Linked DNA regions of Homo sapiens: region 1 is linked to region 2. Evidence: promoter capture Hi-C in 16 types of primary human blood cells and fetal thymus (Javierre and others, 2016). All regions are on one chromosome and are shown on one strand. The core of a region is centred on a gene start or on the middle of the fragment in contact, and the rest is flanking DNA. Distances in the headings are between cores, read along the strand shown. Region 1 has its middle 15 kb from the start of LINC00302. Region 2 holds the start of SPRR1A (small proline rich protein 1A).

What was found. Contacts are between HindIII fragments. The CHiCAGO score rates a contact against its expected background, and 5 or more counts as called.
Region 1: a contact is called between a fragment that was not itself captured here and the fragment with the promoter of SPRR1A in region 2, in 1 of 17 cell types (naive CD8 T cells). The highest score is 5.6, in naive CD8 T cells.

What each region holds. Positions count from the first base shown.
Region 1 is chr1:152,636,955-152,643,123 of GRCh38, forward strand. No RefSeq gene overlaps it. Among named protein-coding and RNA genes, the nearest start is that of LINC00302, 15 kb to the right of the region's middle. The HindIII fragment of the contact is 725 bases long and covers 2,807-3,531 here.
Region 2 is chr1:152,979,515-152,985,330 of GRCh38, forward strand. SPRR1A (small proline rich protein 1A) reads left to right here and starts at 4,567. Exons shown (of 2, transcript NM_005987.4): 1 at 4,567-4,611; 2 at 5,698-5,816. The coding sequence starts at 5,717. The HindIII fragment of the contact is 3,855 bases long and covers 1,696-5,550 here.

The DNA of each region.
Region 1 (6,169 bases), core at 1,919-4,418, 340 kb before region 2:
CTCAGTAGAGAGGTTAAATAACAGACAGCACAACAGAAGAGATAATTAGCAACTGTTAGATTGGACAGAAGAAAATATTGAAGCAAGGGAAGACAAACAACCAGAAAATAAAAAAAAAATACAAAATATATATGGACTATAGTGAAAAGTTCTAATATCTAGATAATAATACTTGGAATCCCAGAAGAAGAGAGAGAACAGAAATAAGCAGTACATGAAGAAATAATCACTCTGAATTTTGACATACTGACAAAAGATATCAAACCACAGTTCCAAGAATGATTAGGCATCCCATGCACAAACTTCTTCTACTATTAGTGCTTGGGGATCCACCTGAGGCCTGGTGTTTCTTGCACTCCTTCTTGTCAAGCTCTGAACTCCTTCCTGGTGAGATGCTAAAATCTTGATTTGGCCTCTCAGCTTCTTAGCCACCACTTTCACTTTCAGCATTCACAAATGGCTGCAGGGAATACATGTCCCAAATATCTGACCCACCCTGCTTGAAGACCCTCTGTTTCCACGTCTTGACATCATCTGTTTTCACTGCCTTGGAATAGGCTTGCAAGATAAAATATAAGATGGCCAGTTAAATTTAAACAATGGATAACCAGCGAATACATTTTTAGTGTAAGTATATACTATGTAGTATTGGAGATTTATACTAAAAAGTTATTGTTTATCTGAAATTTACATTTAATTGGGTGTCTTGTATTTTTATTTGCTAAATCCAGAAATCTACCTTAGTCCCTCTTCTCGGTCTTCAAAGGAGTTTAGAAACATATTGTCCACATATTTTAGCTGTTCTTATTGGGAAGCTAAAACAACATAGTTGGCTATTGCTGGGAGAGAAATTCCTGAGTTTTAAAAGATAACTTAATTGAAGTATTACATGCATAAAGCAAAGCACACAATCATTGTATACAGCCTGATGCTTTTTCAAAAAGGTAACACACTTACATAACAACACCCAGATCAACAGAGAAATGATTACCAGCATCTTAGAAGCTCTCCTTACTCCCCTTTCGAGTTACCGTTATTCCCATCCACACCAAAGGTAACTGTTATCCTGATTTTTAACAGTATGGATTAATTTTGCTTGTTTTCAAACTTTATAGAAATGAAACCATATGCTAAGTGCTCTTTTGCATCTGGTTTCTTTGCTCAGCATTATGTTTATGAGACTCATCCATAGTATTGTGTGAAGTTATAGTTTGTCAATTTTCATAGTGATATAGTATTTAATTGGGTAAGCATTCCACACTTAATTCTCTGATTAAAGGACATTTGGTTAGGTTTCAGTTTTTTGTTTGTTACAAGTAGTTCTGCCATGACCATTCTTATATATGCCTTCGGTACATATACGTGTGGATTTTGGAGGATTATATTTGGGGAATAGGTCACAAGTTGTGCATATGCTCAGTTTTACTAGATACTACCAAGTAATTTTTTAAAAAGTCTGTATGAGAGTTATTGCTCTGTATTCTTGGAAGTCCTTGGCATCATTTGTGTCATCATGTTACCCATTCTTAGTGTTTGTCTCAATGGCAGTGAAAGTCTGCCTCGTGTCTGTGATGGGTCTTGGGCAGCAGAGAGGTGGTGTAGGCTGTTATCATTGAGAAGGTACTCTTATTAACCAGCTCCCTTCAGTCCTACATAGACTATCTTGGGTTATCTTACTATATACTCCCACAGTCCACATTTTGTAGTAATTTCTTGCATAATTGGCTGCTTTAGCCATGAGTTTATTACCTCCATGAGGATAGAGACTAAAATTGTTTTGTTTTTCTGCTATAGTTTAAATGTCCCCTCCAACACTCATGTTGCAATTTGGTTGCCATTGTAACAGTGTTGAAAATTTGGGCCTTTCAGAGGTGATTGGGCCATGAGGGCTCCACCATCATGAGTGGATTAGTGCTGTTGTCATGGGAGTGGGCTAGTTGTTGCAGGAGTGGGTTCCTGATAAAGGAATAAATTCAGTCCCCATTTTCTCTCTGTCTCATATATTCACTTGGCCTTCTGCCTTCTGCCTTCTGCCACAGAATAACCCTTACCAGATACTAGCACCATGCTCTTGGACTTCCCAGCCTCCAGAACTGTAAGCCAAATAAACTATTGTGTTTAAATTATCCAGTCTTTTTTTTCCTAACTTTTATTTTAGGTTTAGGAGTACATGTGCAGGATTGTTATATAGCCAAATTGCATGTTGTGGGGGTTTGGTGTACAGATTATTTAGTCACCCAGGTGATAAGTATAGTAGCTGAGAGGTACTTTTTTTGATTCTCTCTCTTCTCCCAGTCTCCATCCTCAAGTAGGCTCTGGTGTCTGTTGTTGCCCTCTTTGCATCCGTGTGTTCTCATTGTTTAGCTCCCACTTACAAGTGAGACATAAAAAAAATTAACTAGTGTTTGGTACTCTGTCATGGCAGCAGAAAATAGACTAAGAAATCACTTAATAGTTTCTGGCATAAATTTGGCACTCAATAAATAACTGGTCAATGAATAAATGGATGAGCTTTTGTTGTGCCTCCCCCCCAAAAAAATTTTAGAAATATATTTACTATTTAAAGAGCTTCCCCCTTACGTTGATGATATTTAACATGACAAAGGTGATGATACTGACAAAAACCCCATGTCTAGGTGACATCTTATGATGTGGTTGTGGGGTTAGAGTGTTTAATTGGCATTCTTAACCATAGAAATGTCCACATTCCTTTATATCTTTCTATTTTTTTTGCCCCAACAGCAAAACACTAACAATTAGTATGAGCGTCTTCCATATATGGGTCCACTGTATGTTACTGGAGAGAAGCTTTTGAAGGGATTCATGGCAACCAGTTGACCAATCAGCATATCTTCTCCTTGGCTCTGTACTCAGGTCTGTGCTAGAGCTGGGTGACAGAGACAGTTTAATAGGTCTTGATTTCTGCCCTCAATGAGCTTTGACTAATTGGAGGCAGTAAATTTTTATTTAATTAAAATTAAAAGGGAGGAAGGTTTTCAAGGCCCAAAGATAGCATGAGTTTGTGCCTGAAGGCAGTAGGATGAAAGGTGTGCTCTGGTACCAATAAGCAGGGGTGTCAATAGTACTATCTGGGTGGCAGGATATGTGGGGATGATTATTAATCTATTCTTTCTATATCCCCATAGTTTCCAAACTATTTTTACAATTTTAAAGTTGATTGAAAAAGAATCCTAAATGGTTACTGTTGCAGTATGGAAGGTTTTTTTTTTTTCTTTTTGGTTGGGGTAAGCTATAGGCAGAATGGCCACCCAACCAGTTATTTTTCTAGTACAGGAGATAGGCAAAGGCCAGTCTGTGGCATGTGCAGTGGCATAGGGAGGAGCAGATAGCTGTATAACATGCAGAGCCACTCTGTTATCGAATCTCAGCCCAATCTGGGTCTGGAATTTTCTCTACATAGACTCTTCTCAGTTTGACACTAGGGAAAGTTGTCTTTATTTCCCTGTTGGTACTTGAGCTATTTCCCCAACATTTTCCTGAGTCATAGGCCCTATCATGGCCAGAGGATTAAGCTTGGAAAGAAAACAGATATTCTGGTTAGATCTTGAGGGCTGTGGGTGTTCTAAAAATGTATTCTCAGCTCTCACCTGTTCTTGGCCCCTGGCAAGCAAGAAAAGCAACAAGGGTGATGGCCTTCAGCTGTGGCCTCCTGTGGTGGGTATGATTGTTGAGTAAGTCCAAATGGAAATGAGACATTGGTTCAGCTTCCTAGTCTAGACTTTCTGGCAACCCAGACTCACTTTTCACAGCAAAACACCAGCAGCAACAACGACAAATACAGGCTTCATTTTAGGACAGTCTCTGCTGTTAGCATGTTACATATATTAACCTGTTTAACTCACAACAGCTCTTCAAGGAAGACATTATTATTATCATTTTAGTAATCTCAGGCTCAGAGAGGTTCACACAGCTACTAAGTGGCAGGACTGGAATTCAAACCCCAGAAGTTTGGTTCAGAGTCTATGCTCTTAACCACCAGGTAATCGGCCAGACTAGACAGAGACACATAGGCATCTGGACAAACTCATTTTACGGGTAATTTCAATCTGGTATTGTGCAAATATATATTCAACACAGATTGAGAAGAGAGATTGAGCTCTGTAATAGGAGAAGGTTTAAACAAAAGGATGTTTCACCAGCTTGCAAAATAAAATTCTACAGTTAACTGGATTTACTCTACAGGCATATTTCGAAGATACTGTGAGTTCAGTTCCAGACCACTGCAATAAAGCAAATATTGCAATAAACCAAGTCAAACGAATTTTTTGTCTTCTCGGTGCATGTGAAAGTTATGTTCACACTATACTACAGTCTATTAAGTGTGCAATAGCATTAAATTTAAGAAATAATGAGGATATCTTAATTAAAAATACACCATAATGTGAGCCTTCATTGAGTTATAATATTTTTGCGGATGCAGGGTCTTGTCTTGATGGTCACTGATTGATCAGGGTGGTGGCTGCCGAAGGTGGGGTAGTTGTGACAATTTTCTGAAATAAGACAACAATGACATTTGCTGCATTGATTGACACTTCCTTTCACAAAAGATTTCTCTGTAGCATGTGATGCTGTTTGATAACATTTTACTTACAGTGGAACTGCTTTCAAAATTTGAGTCAATCCTCTCAAACCTTGCCGCTGCTTTATCACAAAGTTCATGTAATATTTTAAATCCTTTGTTGTCATTCAATAATGATCACAGTATCTTCACAGGAGTAGATTCCATGTCAAGAAACCACTTTCTTTGTTCATCCATAAGAAGCAGCTCCACATCCATTCAAATTTTGTCATAAGATTGCAGCAATTCAGTCCCATCTTCTGACTCCACTTGTATTTCTCTTCCTATGTCCATCACATATACAGTTACTTTCTCCGCTGAAGTCTTGAATCCCTCAAAGTCATCCATGAGGGTTGGAATCAACTTCTTCCAAACTCTTGTTTATGTTGATATTTTGACATTGTCCTATGAATCATGAATTTTCTTAATGGTATCTAGAATGGGGCATCCTTTCTAGAAGGTTTTCAATTGATTTAGCTCAGACACATCAGAGGAATCACTGTCTATGGTAGCTATAGCCTTACAAAATGTTTTTCTTATATAATAATGATGCTTAAAAACTGAAATTATGGCCAGGCTTGGTGGCTCACGCCTGTAATCCCAGCACTTTGGGAGGCCGAGGTGGGCAGATCAGGTCAGGAGATTGAGACCATCCTGGCTAACATGGTGAAACCCCATCTCTACTAAAAGAACAAAAAATTAGCTAGGCATGGTGGCGGGCGCCTGTAGTCCCAGCTACTCAGGAGGCTGAGGCAGGAGAATGGCGTGAGCCCAGGAGGTGGAGCTTGCAGTGAGCCAAGATCGCACCACTGCACTCCAGCCTGGGCAACAGTGCGAGTCTCTGTCTCAAGAAAAAAACAAAAACAAAAACAAACAAAAAAAAACAAAAAAACAAATTACTTCTTGATTCATGGACTTCATAACAGATGTTGTCTTAGCAGGCATGAAAACAAGATTAATCTTGTACATCTCTATCAGAGCTCTTTGCTGAATAGGTGCATTGTGAATGAACAGTAATATTTTGAAAGTTATCCTTTGTTCTGAGCAGTAGGCCTCAAAAGTGGGTTTAAAATATTCAGTAAACCATGCTGTAAACACATGTGCTGCCATCCAGGCTTTGTTGTTCCACTTTATAGAGCACAGGCATAGTAGATTTAGCATAATTCTTAAGGACCCTAGGATTTTTGGAATTATAAATGATGATTGACTTAGACTTAATGTCAATAGCTGCATTAGTCCCTACCACAAGAATCAGCCTTTCTTTGAAACTTTGAAGCCAGGCATTGATTTCTCCTCTCTAGCTATCAATGTCCCAGATGGCATCTTCTTCCAATATAAGGCTGTTTCACCTACATTAAAAATCTGTTGCTTAGTGTATTCACTTTTATCAATTATCTTAGCTACATCTTCTGGATCACTTGCTGCAGTTTCTGCATCAGCCCTTGCTGCTTCACCTTGCACTTTAGGTTTTGAAGATGGCTTCTTTCTTTAAACATCATGAACCAACCTCTGTTAGCTTCCAACTTTTCTTCAGCAGCTTCCTCACATTTCTCAGCCTTCATGGAATTGAAGAGAGTTAGAGCTTTGCTC
Region 2 (5,816 bases), core at 3,317-5,816:
ACATCAGACCTTCATGACATGTTGGGAGAGTCACTCAAAGTTTTTCTGCCTCAATTTCCTTATCTAAGGTGTGTCCAGGTTTTTGTATAATCACCAATAATTTTAGCCTCCTCCCATGCCCCAACTCCTATAAAACATGAACTGTGCAGTCATTGTCACTGTTCAATAGCTCAAGATATAATTTGGTAAATATGTAAACCTGAAATCGAGTGTAAAAAAATGAGGGGAGATAAAGCAATCACAAAGGCCAAGAATGTTGCTCCATTGAAGAAGTATGCCCTGTCCTTGGGCGCTCTCTCCCTGTTCTCTCTCTCTTTCTCTCTCTCTCTCTCTCTCTCTCTCTCACACACACACACACACACACACACACACACACAGAGTGAGAAGGAAAAAAGGAAACTCACAGTCAAAAGGAAAAAGTTTCAACTGATTTCAAGTGGAAGGAGAGGAAAGAATGAGACAAGCTAGCAAGAATTATTACGCTAGACGTATTTAGCTCATTCATCTTAAAGTGTTAGAAGCATCATTGCGTTTAATCTTTATAGCAACTTTGTGAAGTAGAATTTAAAGTTCTCCTTTTAAAGATAAGGACAGTAGCATGCAGAAAGGTTAGGCAACTTGCTCAAGGTCATCCAACTAATAAGGGCATAGCAAGGCTTTGAAACAACTGGGCAAGACATTAAGCCTGGGTGCTTTTATTTCTATATACCTCAAGCAAGAGAAGCCAGGTTTAATTTTTTATCCATCCCTTCAAGGACCAGAAATAAAAAGAGTGAGGGTGAGGGGCATGCTCTGTTCTTAAAGAGATGGTAGAAAGGAAAGGGAATTGAGCATCCCAGGTTTGGGTCTGATTCTGTCACTAAAGAGGCTGTGAAGCCTGGAGCGAGTTCCTTCCCCCACCACAGCAGTTCATTCCCTCTCTATTGGATGAGGGGCTGAGTAGAGTTTCTCTGGTGCTATGATTTCATGTCCTCCCTCCACCTCTGCACCCACATTTGCAAACTTAACTTTTCCTCCCTGCTGGGCCAAAGTGTTCAGGAGGCTCCTAACACCTGGGATCTGGTGTTTCTCCTTTTCCTGCCCTTTCTCAGATGAAGAGCTTGTGTGTTATAGAGACTTTTTAAAAATTATCATGGCCTGAATTGAGCAGCTGACACTCTGGGGGTCTCCCTAGCTTCTCAAGGTGATCAGAGAAAGGGAGGGGGTAAACCTGTTAATACTGCATGTTTCTAAATGTTACCATGCTTTAAATATGCAATCCCCACAGGAAAAGGCCTGGAGTTCAAATTCTGCATGACCTTCTTTGCAGGGTCTGGGCTTTAGGGAAGTGTGGGGGAGAGAGTAATCTATGCTGGGAAAAGCCTGATCACTGATTAGACTTAGGGCCATCAATCTTCCTTGCTCTGGAAATGACTGATGAACCTGAGGCACTGCTCAGAGTCAATGGAAGTTCCAGGGACAAATGAGAGCCAGTTTTCGATGTCAGAAGAGCAGCAGCTCCTGTGTCCTAGGTGGGGCTTTTCTGCAAGGCTGAGAAATCTGGGGTGCTGTTCTTACTGTCGGAAGCCACCCAGTTTCCCCTTGTCTTTATGTGGGAGTTTGTGGGGCCTGATTCAATAGCTAACCCAACCCCAGTGGCAGAGAAACAAAGTTTCTTCTGAGGGAAGATTAACGATTAACACAAGTCACTGTGGAAGCTTCAAATACACAGAGAGAAGAATGTCAGAGACCAAGAGAAAGTTCCAGAGTCTGGAGCCCAAGCAGGCTTGGGTGGGGTGAAGGAAGCACATGTTGAGGCACGCAGGACTGTCCAGTAAGGAGCTGATAACCAGGGAGAAGGAAATTCCTTTGCATCCAGGGCTAAGGTCCAGGGAGGGCATGAGAACACACCAGCTTCAGAGGTGGCTTCAGATCATCCAGGGCCTGAGACAAGCTGGGTGACACCAGAGGACAGACAACTAGGCAGCAGGTTCCTGCAGGGCTGAGAATCCTACCAGACATAGCAACAGGTTCCAGCAGCCCCTGCTGTCAGGGCTCCTGGGTGGGGACTTGGTGAAGAAGGGGACCTGGGCACAAACCTAGAGGAGAGCTAAGTGAGGCAAGAGTCTTGGAGCTCAGGTGTCCTGGTGGGGCTGGCACCAGCCCGGAGCAAGGTGGGGCATTAAACTGTTTGACAGTGAGGCAGGTGGGTGGGGAGGGCAGCAGGTACACTGTGTACCGGAGCTTCTAGGCAGGTTTCAAAGTAGACTCTCAGCCTGTCTTTACAAATAACGCCATTCAGTCATTCATTCATTCAGTCAGCCAGCCAGCCAGCCAGCCAGGCAGTCGGTCTATAAATGCCAGTCACCAAGCAGCTTCTGCACGCCAGGCACTGTGTGAGGATGGAGATGGATAGGGACCAATGGCTGCATGGACACAGTGGGAGGCTGACCTTGGCCTCAGGTTCACTGGCTGTGGAGCCAGCAGGTGCTCCACAAACATTTAGGTGTGTGTTTGGGTAAAGGAGGGGTTAGATGAGGAGGAGGAACCATCTGAACACCTGAGTTTTAAGGATGATTTGGATTTTCCAAAGGCCACACCTAGTAACAGTTTGTGTTTTGAGTGCAGCTCTGAATCAGAGACCTCAGTTTTATGGCAATTGCCTATGGAAAGATTGAGGGAACCCCTGTTCTTGTGTCCCCAGGAAAGAGAAGTTCCTTGGCAGGGCAGAATCTGACCATCGTGGAGTGAAGGCAAGCATGTGCAGGTGCTCAGGGGCTTATCACCTACTGCCTCCCCCAGTGCCTTCACCTCAGCTGTGTCACGATGTCACTCTGAGAGCTCCCCTAGAGCGAAAGCAACTCAGGATAGAAGCAGACATTTTAGTTTTGGCTTTTCCCTTCCTTTCTCCGACCCTGGTGCCCTGAGTAATGATAAACTGAACCTTATTTCCACCTATTCTAATTCATGCCCTTCTTACTTTAGCAGAGCTAGAAACACCCACTGTTTAGAGCCACTCAAATATTAAGCATCTTTATTTCTACTTAAAGGGATTTATCTTAGCACCGATTAAGGCTTACCCACAAGGCAAGGCTCTTTCTGTGTCCTCACGCTGTCACTCCTAAAACTTTCCAGAACTACAAGTGACCCAGCTCTCAGTCAGGAAGGGCTCCCCTTTCCACCTCTAATCAATTTTCTGCCTGGGCTTAATTTCCTCCATAGACATTAGGGAGTCACAAGGAATTAAAACAAAGGAGAACACAGGATTTCTGTGTAAAATTCTTTTCTTCCTAGGGTTTGTTTTTTTGACCTTGGTGAGTTATTTCACCTCTGGTGGCCTCAGATTCCCCAATCATCCCTTGAGGAGTGTGAACTAAAGGCTCTCTGAGATCCATAATCTCAGTGGCTCTCAACTGTGCTCTGTCTCTTACCCTGGGGAGTTCATGATCTGTAGAGGAAAAGTGGGCTTCCTCATCAGAGAGCTCCTAGAATGACAGGCATGATGGGCATATGTTAGGCTCCCCACTGAGATTTGTTGAATAAATGAGGAAATAAACACTGTGGTGGGGACACCGTTGCTTTAAGCAGGAACAGCTCTGACCCTCGGAAAGCCCCCAGGAGATACAGACCCAGAAGGAGGAGGAAAACCTTGCAGCCAGCAGGATCTCTAGGTATTGGGGCTGGAGCTGGCAGTGGGCAAAAGTGGAGAAGGATTCAGCATTGAGGACCCCATGGATGGGCTGCAGGGAGGCAGGTAGAAAAGGCTTTTGGGTTTTCAGGTGGGGGGCAGTCTAGCCTGATCAGAAAGGAGGAAAAGGCCAGGGCCAGATGTCTGGGTGGAGTGAAGGGAAAAAGTGATCCCAGAAGAAGGATTAGCCCCTGAAAGTCCCTGAAGTAGGAGAAGGGTAAAGGTGTGGTTGGTGAAGGAAAGCAGGTTTTCCCAGATTAGCAACCAGTCAGGGGGAGGAAGGTGAGAGTGGGAGAGTCATAAGTAAATTATTCTGAATGTGTGTAGTTTAATGGAATTGGGAAAAAGATGGGGGAAATGGATGGAAGGGTCTTGGACTCTGAGACAAGGGGTCTATAATCAGTCCATTTCATTATTTCTAGCTTCCACCTTCACCAAGGCAGACAAGGAGGGCCCACCTCAGCTCCTCTGCTCCCCCTCCCTTTCCCACCTATTCATGTGTGCAAGAGTGCCCTGTCCCACAGAACACGGGGAACAACCATCTCAATGACAAGGACAGCAGGTGGCAAGGCCTCAACAGGACTCAGATGTCCCCCCAGGGTTAACTCATGAAACCCTCCATGAAGCCTGCTGCTCACCCCTCCCTCAAGGCAAGCCCTGCACCTGGGTCTGAGGATGAGGGTGGCAGTGAAAATTAGGCCAGTGACATCATTTTCAGCCAGCCAGTGCCAAAAAATATCAGGTGGTGTTCATCAAAAAAGCTGAGCCAACCGGTGATGAGGATGGTAGTGTGAGTCATGTGTGACAGGTGAGGAATGAAAACAGAGTGCCCGAGAGCTTCTATTTCCTTGAGGCAGGGCTCATTCATCTTATAAAAGCCAGCTGGCCATTGCCTTCACACCAAACCCAAGGGACCACACAGCCCATTCTGCTCCGTATACCAGGTAAGTCTCTGATTGCAACAAACTGGCAATTCTAGTGTACTTTTTCATTATTAGAAATTAGCTAAAGGCAAATATGTGTAAGCAGGTTAATCCAGGGTTTCAATGGGAGATAGAGAATAGTGGAATATCTTTATTTTAAGTTAAATTACAGTCTGGATTTGAAAGGACCTTAGAGATGGTTAGGGCTCCCACCTCAGTAGATAGTCATTGAACTGGGAGTCCTGGAGAAGATTGTTCAAATGCCCATGGGAAGTTCATAGCAGAACTAGAACTCAGGCCCAGAGCACTCTCAGTAACACTGCAATTTCCCCCTGACAAGATATTTATAGAAATTTTAATTTATTAGATGGATCTCTACTGAGCATTTATTCCATTTAAGGCAGTATGCTAGGCACTTTGGACAAATCAATGCCTAACGTACTTACTTAACAAACATAAAACCTAGCAGGAAGGTAATACATATATATAAATAAATGAAATGCAAAGTAGATAGTAATTGGCATGACGGAGATGGGCAGAGAAGGGCTGTGCACTTTTGGGAGACCTTGCTCAAGGAGACCCTCCTAGGGGTGTCAAGTGATGTGAGCTATGATGGAGGGGTATTTGGACAAGCAGAGATGGGAAGAAAAGCATTTGGAAGGGACTGTGTAAGCACAGACCAGAAGCAAAACCATAGAGGCTTAGATGAATATAAAGCCATCCTATAAGTCACAGGCTTTCTACATGGTACTAGGAGAGGAAAGTGGTCTGATGCCATTTTCCAAAAGACCTAATATGCGGACCTCATGTCCCTCAGAAGCCAGCTTTAGTAGGGCATTTTTCCAGAACAGATATAAGTTGCCTTGGGTAGGAAGGGAGCCAAGAAGAGAACTCCAATAAAATGGAGCAGAAGAAATTGCCTTTTAGCTCCTCCTCTTCAAAGGGCCTGAAAATTATCCAAGCTTATTTCATTTTTAAATGTAATGGGGGAGTTAAGGGAGATGAAAGGCTTTCTCTTCTAAAGGGTCCTGAAATAAAATCTGTTTGGCATTGAATTTGTATCCATCTTTCTTTAATTGAATCACTGTGTCAGCTTTCTGTCTCTAGAAAAAAACACATTTGAAGCATGAATTCTCAGCAGCAGAAGCAGCCTTGCACCCCACCCCCTCAGCCTCAGCAGCAGCAGGTGAAACAACCTTGCCAGCCTCCACCCCAGGAACCATGCA